Linked DNA regions of Homo sapiens: region 1 is linked to region 2. The links are contacts of gene promoters, found by promoter capture Hi-C in human tissues and cell types (Jung and others, 2019). All regions are on one chromosome and are shown on one strand. Each heading gives the region's core, a stretch centred on a gene start or on the middle of the fragment in contact. The rest is flanking DNA. Distances are from core to core; before and after follow the strand shown. Region 1 holds the start of LINC01671 (long intergenic non-protein coding RNA 1671). Region 2 holds the start of PDE9A (phosphodiesterase 9A).

What was found. Contacts are between HindIII fragments. The study calls those that stand out against the background at their distance.
Region 1: a contact is called between a fragment that was not itself captured here and the fragment with the promoter of PDE9A in region 2, in 4 of the 25 tissues and cell types used here (IMR-90 fibroblasts, aorta, dorsolateral prefrontal cortex and 1 more).

Annotation. Positions count from the first base shown.
Region 1 is chr21:42,611,671-42,615,558 of GRCh38, forward strand. LINC01671 (long intergenic non-protein coding RNA 1671) reads right to left here and starts at 3,425. Exons shown (of 2, transcript NR_131192.1): 1 at 3,183-3,425. The HindIII fragment of the contact is 3,614 bases long and covers 77-3,690 here.
Region 2 is chr21:42,651,043-42,654,870 of GRCh38, forward strand. It overlaps PDE9A (phosphodiesterase 9A), which reads left to right and starts at 2,579. Exons shown (of 20, transcript NM_002606.3): 1 at 2,579-2,841. The coding sequence starts at 2,773. It overlaps LOC101928255 (a long non-coding RNA gene), which reads right to left and starts at 2,616. Exons shown (of 3, transcript XR_244322.4): 1 at 548-2,616. RefSeq lists an enhancer at 1,543-2,264. The HindIII fragment of the contact is 36,096 bases long and covers 1-3,828 here.

The DNA of each region.
Region 1 (3,888 bases), core at 634-3,133, 40 kb before region 2:
TGAGGTCAGGAGTTCAAGACCAGCCTGGCCAACATGGCAAAACCCCATCTCTAGTAAAAATATGAAAATTAGCCGGGCATGGTGGCATGTACTTGTAATCCCACCTACTTGGGAGGCTGAAGCAGGAGAATCACTTGAACCCTGGGGTCAAAAGTTGCAGTGAGCCGAGATCACCCCACTGCACTCCAGCATGGGTGACAAAGTGAGACTCTGCCTCAAAAAAAATTAAAATAAAATAAAAAGAAAAGCTTTACCTGGTTAATTTCAGTATCTGGAGCCCATGATGGTTGAATTTTATTGTCCTCGTTTCTGTGGATTCTTGTCCACACTGTCTTTTCTTTTTGTGTGTTTGCTTATTTTAGATTGTGTGCTAGACATTGTATTTGGAAAAAAAAATACATTTTGTGGACACAATCTGCTGATACACTCTTTCTCTGCAAATTTTTTGTAACTACCAAGCAACTGGGTATATTCACAATCTGGAATCATCTTAATCTAATTTTAGAAATTGAGATTTTTCTGGACCCTCGAGATATCTAAAAACTGAAATAAAGTTATTGAAATGATTTGTCTATTTCCGGCTTTTTTTTTTTCCTTAGATGTAATTCTTCAAAGTCCTAATGTGAAGAAGAAGGGTTGCTAAGACCCCCACCCTCAAAATTGGAGTGTCTCAGATGCTAAATTTTGTCCTTTATTCCTACAGAATGGCAAAAACATATGGCTCCACCTCTTAACCATCTCTTCCATGACTAAAAAAACACTCCCAAGGAAAAATTGCCCCAAATGCTGGGTTCATTTGCCTGAATTTTTATCTTCTTCCTCATGTTGGCCCAGTAGTTTTTTGCTATCTCACTAGCCCATCAGTATTCAAGTATTTTTTTTTTTTAAGTATTTTGTTCAAAAGTTTCTGGCTATCTGCCAAAAGAAGGTTGGTCCATATTGCTTAGTTCACCATTACTAGAAAGAGAAGCTTTATACTGTCATGCTCAGTAGAAATTTAAAAATAGCTCATCTTCTTCTGACACCAATACATCATAGCTTCGTATTTTCTCACTTTGACAGCCTGGTTATGCTGTTCTATACTCTTGAATACAAGTGGGAAAAAACAATTTGGTCAAACTTTTTAAAAAGTTTGGATGCTTGAGCACAGACTAACCAAAAAGTCTGAATATGATGCATTCCAAAGATTCTGAGTCCACGGGTTGTCTAGAGTTCAGAATGCATGTTTCCATGCCTGACAGGCCAACCCACAGGAACCCCTCATGGGGCTGAGCTACGGAGGCTACAGCAGTGGCCCAAATTCTGTGTTATGGAAGCAGCAGGTACAGATAGAAAGAGAACTACAGGAGAAAGAAATGTGCCCCCTCTCATGCTAGGGCCCTCACGCATGAAGGACCCCAGGAGAAAATGTCAGACAGGCCTTCCCTGGGGTTGGCATGTGCCCGCTGTATTAGTCTGTTCTTACACTGCTATAAAGAACTACCTGAGACTGGGTAATTTATGAAAAAAAGCAGTTGAATTGACTCATAGTTCTGCAGGCTGTATAGGAAGCATGGCTGGGAGCGCCGCAGGAAACTTACAATTATGGCAGAAGAGTGAAGGGGAAGCAAGCACCTTCTTCACGTGGCAGAGCAGGAGGAAGAGAATGAAGTTGGGGGCTGGTCGTGCTAGGCACTTTTAAACAACCAGGTCTTGGAAGAACTCTATCAAGAGACAGCACCGGGGGATGGTACTAAACTATTAGAAACCACGCCATGATCCAGTCACCTCCCACCAGGCCCCACCTCCAACACTGGAGAATTATAATTCAACATGGATTTGGGTAGGGACACAGAGCCAAACCACATCACCCACCTCTCTGCATTCTGAGCACACTGCTTCCCTTATTCCAAACTCTCCAGGTGCCCTGGGCCTTCCTGAGGTGCTCGGGACCCAATGAAGGGTCCCCATCCACCCTGTCCTCCCTGCTCAAAGTGCCCCATGCTCCCAAATCCAACCGTTCCCTCCAATAATAAAACCTCAAATTCTCTCCTTGCTGGCCACCTCCGTTCAGAGTTGAGGGAGGGAAGAAACTGCAAACTCATACTAATCCCCTGCCAGTTTGTCTTAGTTTTCAAAGTGACTCTTCTTATAACAGGTGTAACAAGTGAATTGATCATTTCGGGCAAGGAAACAGAGCAGAGAGGAAGCCTGAAGGCAAAGTTGGGGAACCGATGTGGAGGCAACAGTTAGAGAGAAGGTCATTGAGGAGAGGGCACTTCCACTGCCGCCTCCCTCAGCGGGGTCCTGCCTTTCCAGCCCCTCTCCCTCCAAATCCCAGGATTCTCTCAGCGCCAGGGCCAGGGATTTACTTCCAGTGGTTCTGGGGGTGTCCATGTGGTATTAAGGAGCCACAACTGACAGAGGAGATGGGATAGGGGCACTTGGGGGCTGCCCTGAGGCTCCTGGGACTTACTGGATTTATGAGGATTTATGAGAATTTAGGAACTAGGCATCCATAACCCTAGGAGTCTCTGGACTCATATTTTTAAGATTTTTGCCTCAGATAAATAAAATATTTTTATAGGCTACAACGTTGCTGCTTTTTTTCTGTTCTTTAAATCATCAGTTTAAAAATAAATTGCATTCAAGTTTTCATTCCTGGCAGGGTGCAGGGTTAAGCCGCCTACATTTGACTTTAACAGATGATTTCATTGCACTCAATTTTTTTATAAAACAGAAAACCTTCCTAGGTTGTTGCAACCACAAAGAGGAGGCTACTATATAAGAAGGTAAAGGATTCTTAACACACCGCAGAGCCGCACAGGTCTTTGTCGTTAGCCAAGCTGGATCCTGGCAACCACCTAGGACAGTCAACGTGGGGTTTTCTATTTTACAGGTGAAGAAAATGAGGCTTTCCGGTCTGGCTGCTCATCCAGGGCCCTGGTTCCCAGTACAGCGGGCCACGCTGGGCTAGGGTATTATCTGTGTGTCTGCATAACCCCCTCCCGTGGTTGACAGAGTTTGTCTGATCAAAGCATCTTTAGTGGAAAACCACACTCACCACAGGGCTATTTTCACACACCCAAACTTCGGAATACATTTTTTTTCCAGAGAGGACTTCTCTGGGACAAAGTAACACTTTTACATCCCACTGCTGGTCTGGGCAGTCAACTCCCTGATGTCTCGGTTTCTGAACATACCTTGGCAAACTCCAAGAGGAGTCCAGGCGAGAGGAATGGTCCTGTGTAGGCAGAGACGCCCCAGGCAGTGCCGGAGCTGAGCTTCCCAGGCAGACCCTGTTGCCCTGGATCTCACCCCGGGTCTAGCCCTGCTGGCAGACCTGTGAGGTGTTCCTGAATTGGGTTCAGATGTCCCCCCAGACCAGCCCTCTTACAGGCAAAGCCTGTCCCAATGCTGGCCCGTACCTGTTGTCACAGGACCTGAGCTTTAGGGGATTTCGCAATTTCAGATGAGGAAGCTGATTAATGAGTGGCTCAGAACATGGAGGACGCTGGGAGCAGAGCCGAGCAAGGCAACCTGCAGCCCGTTCCTGCCCCATCAGATGCGCCTCGGGGCTTGGGGCTGCACGTAGTCACACGCAGTACACACACACACCACACATACATCACACACCACACACACACTACACACACATCACACACCACACACCACATACACACACCACATACCACATACACCACACACCACACACAGTACACACACACCACACACCACACACACATCAAACACCACACACACTACACGCACACCACACACCACATACACACACACCACACACATACCACACACCACACACACCACACACACCACACACCACATACACACACCACACGCACCACACACCACACACTACACACCACACACACACCACACATACATCACACA
Region 2 (3,828 bases), core at 1,329-3,828:
CACTTTGCAAAGCTGACTGCAGCTGCTGCTCACTGGCCTCCCTGCCTGGCCCCTTCCATGCACCCTCCTCCAGCATCCAAGAGGATCCTGTGAAAACCCACGTCAGACCATGGCCCTCTGCACCGCCTCCTGCAAGGCATGCAGTGGAGGAAGAGTGACCTCAAGTCACTCGTGTGACCACGCGGGGTTGCCCCCGTCACCTCTCTGACCTCACAGCCCACTACGGTCCCCCACAGCCCACTCCCTCCCTCCGCTCTGGCCACGTGGCCTCCTGCATAAGGCTGCTTCTGTGCCAGAACGTCCTTCCCTCTGACACACACAGGCTCCTTGCTCCTAACACCTGTAAGATCCCTCCTCCTATGTGACCTTTTGCCTGGCCACTTTCTCTAAAATTCCAACTCCCTCACACTGCACATTCCCTCACACTGCACATTCTATATCCCCTTCCCCGCAGGATTTTTCTTTTTTAGAGATGGGGTCTCACTATGGATTTTTCTTCTTTGCCTTAATTTTTATCCAACACCCTACACATTCTATTTATTTATACCATCGTGTCTGTCTTCCCCAGAGAATGCCAGCTTCTTCAGGCCAGGGATCTCTGCTTATTCTGTTCACTACTGAATTCCCAGTGCCCAGAACAGCACCCAACACGCAGTAATGAGATTGTTGACGAATGGAAGACCGCACTGCTCCATGGGGATCTGGGAGAGGAAAGGGTTCCTCTCTAGGCAGCTGCTGAGGCCTCATCGATCCAGTATCTACACAGGGGTCCAGTCCAGCTCCTAAAAGTGCAAAGTAATTATAGATGCGATTATTCTCCTGAGCACAGAATCAGCCAGGCAGTGTGAGGGGCCAGCCTGCACTGGTGCTGGACGCACACAGAGTCTCAGAGCCACACCCTCCACCCTCCTGGGGAACTGCCCTGCAGAACCACCCCCCATGGGCGGGCACTCGTCCTTCTGGGGCTCTTGGAGGAAATGGTTACAGAAGACTAGGCCAGATGACAATAAGGGATGGAGAATAACTAAGTGCCAAGCCAATGAGCCATCTGCTGGTAAGAACTCCATGCCAGGCAGCACAGGCGGTCCCAACAGCACGATCTCTGGATTAGCCCAAATAGCATCGGAACATTTGACAACAAATTGAACTACTAGTAATAGTGCTCACTTCAATGAGCCGGGGACACAGTATCCCCATGGCGAGTCAGCTGGCCCGCTGTAACCACCCAGCTGGGTCTCCCCACCCCAAAGGCCTCCAGGCTGTCCCCTTCTCATCCTGTCACTTGAAAAGCACAACTCATGGTGCCAAAGCTCTGACACGGACTCCACTGGAGCTGTGGGCAGGGGGTGCCAAGGTACCGAGTTCCAAGCCGTTGTTATTTGAGAGCGTGCCCCCCGCCATGAGAGCAGGTGGGGGGACATAAAGTGACACAGGATGGACTGGCCAAAGGCTGAGGACGATCACTTACCTCACAGGATGATGCCACCCCCACGGACAGGCAAGGAGCTCTCACCTTCCCCAGGACCCCAGCTGCCACCAGAGCTCCAGATGGCCCTGGGGGTGTCTGTAAAGCCTGTGACCGTCCACCAGGTGGAGACCAGGCTGGCCAGGGGAGGGAGAGGAAGTGACCACTGGCCCTGGCACTGGCTGGCCGGCTCCAGCAGGCCCGAAGGGGAGGGAGGAGCCTGGGTGCACCAGACTCTCTCAATAAGCAGCACCCAGACACTTAACAGATGGAAAGCGGTGGCTTGGAACTCACTTCCAACGAAACAATAGCACATGCTCCGGCTGGCTTTGACACTTGCTTCCAAAGGCGACCTGCACCCAGGGCCAGGACCACGGCATCTGAGCCTCCTCCCCCAGCCGCCAACCCCATTCCCAATGGAGGAGCCCAGGAGAACTGGGGGCGGCCAAGGCAGCCCTTCCCTGCTCCGCAGATCCAGAGGATGCCCACAGCCCCCTTCCCCTCCCGCCTTTCCCACACTCCCTGTAGCAATTCACACAAGCGGGGAGGGGACGAAACTGCTGAATCCAGCAGATAGCTTGTGGCGGGGTAATCCTCGGTCCGGCCCCATACAGGACAGAAATAAAATCGCCATTTCAGCTCCGGGCGCAGCTGGAGGAGGCTGACGCCCCCTAGTTAGGGGAAGGCTGTGGGTGACCGAGAAGGAACTTTTCCCGTTTTCTATTCAAATGAAATGAGGGTGGCGGTCGCAGCAGGGAGAGAGGAGCGAGGGGAGTTTTCCCGGCGGGGCTGGGGGGTCCACAGCGGCGCGGCCACGCTCAGCCCAGCGCTGGCTTAGGAGGGACGGGCTGCGTGGGGAGGCGACGGCTCCGGGCCGAAGGGGTCGCTCAGGGCTCTGCACAGCTGTCCAGGGGGCATCGGGAGATAGGCAGCCGACCGGGGGCTGGAGTCAAGGGAAGAAGAAAGAGGGGGAAGGGAGGTGCAGGGAGTGAAGAGGAGGGGAGAGAGGAGAGACGGGGGAGGGAGGGGGGAGGGGGGAGGGGGAGGGGCGGGCGGGCGGCCGGGAGGAGGAGCGCGCGAGCCGGAGTCGGAGCCCGAGCCCGAGCGCGAGCCGAGCGGAGGAGACCCTGCGGCGCGCGGCGGCGGCTCCCGGGCGTCCCGGGCCCGGTGGCGGCGCGGCTGTGGTTGGCTGAGCGCCGCGGGCCGCCCCCCGCCCGCCCCCTCCCCTGCTCCCCTCCCCCGCCTCCCGCGGCGGCTGGCGTCGGGAAAGTACAGTAAAAAGTCCGAGTGCAGCCGCCGGGCGCAGGATGGGATCCGGCTCCTCCAGCTACCGGCCCAAGGCCATCTACCTGGACATCGATGGACGCATTCAGAAGGTAGCCCCTCCCCCACCCAGACACCCCCTCCTCCCCCCGGGTGACAGCGCCGGGGCCGGGCGCGGCGGGGCGGGACTGTCCGTGCGTCTGCCGGTCCAGGCTGCGGCCTCCGTGCGCTCCGCCAGCTCTGGTCGGGGGCGGGGGTCCCCACGCGCCGGCTCCCCGGGGAAAGGGGCGACTCGCCCTGGGGGGTGGGGGGTGGGGGGGCGGGCTAGTGTTTCCGTTTCACAGGCAGAGCTTTTCTTTTTGAAAATCTGATTAGGCTGAGTTTTTACATTCAAGGGCTGGCACATGAAGCCTTTAATTTCCGGTGGATCGGCCCGCCGGGCAGCCCCGGGGTCGTGGTCCGCGGAGGGGGCGAGCAGCCGCCGCTTCCTGTCGCGCGGGGGCAGGTGCGGGGGGCGCCGGCGGGGACACTGCTCCCCCGCAGGTGAGTAGCTCCGACTGCAGAGGGGGACTCGGGCCGCTGCACCTCCGGGGCCCCGCGGAGAGCCTGGGGGGCAGCGGGTCCGGCTCTCCCCTGCTGTGCGGAGATAGGAAGTCCCTCGAATGTCCAGCGTTCCTAGCGGACTTGAGTTACACGGGAGAGGGGTTCAGAATAGACCCCCTTTGTTCGTGGCCCCCTCTGACGGGCAGGGAGGGACAATGAGCGCGCCGGCTTGGAAGGGGCTCTCATGAGCTCCCCCTAAAGTCCCCAGGGAAAAGCCATTGTGAGGAAATCCCTCAAACCTCAGCTGGGCGTTTCAGGAAGCCCTTGCAGCTGCTTCTCACCTTTCTGCCCACGGAGTACTCCACTGAAGGAGGCCAGGGAGAGATGCCCCAGCCAGGCACAGAGCAGGTGCCGGCCAGGCTTGAGTCTTTCCTGTTCCCAGAGGTGCATTTGGCCAGTTTAATCAGTAGATTTAAGCCAACAAGCCTCCCTCACCCTGTGCCCGGCTTGATCCCCGTGAAATGGAAAGTACAGCCCTCTCCCACCGTAGCCCGCTT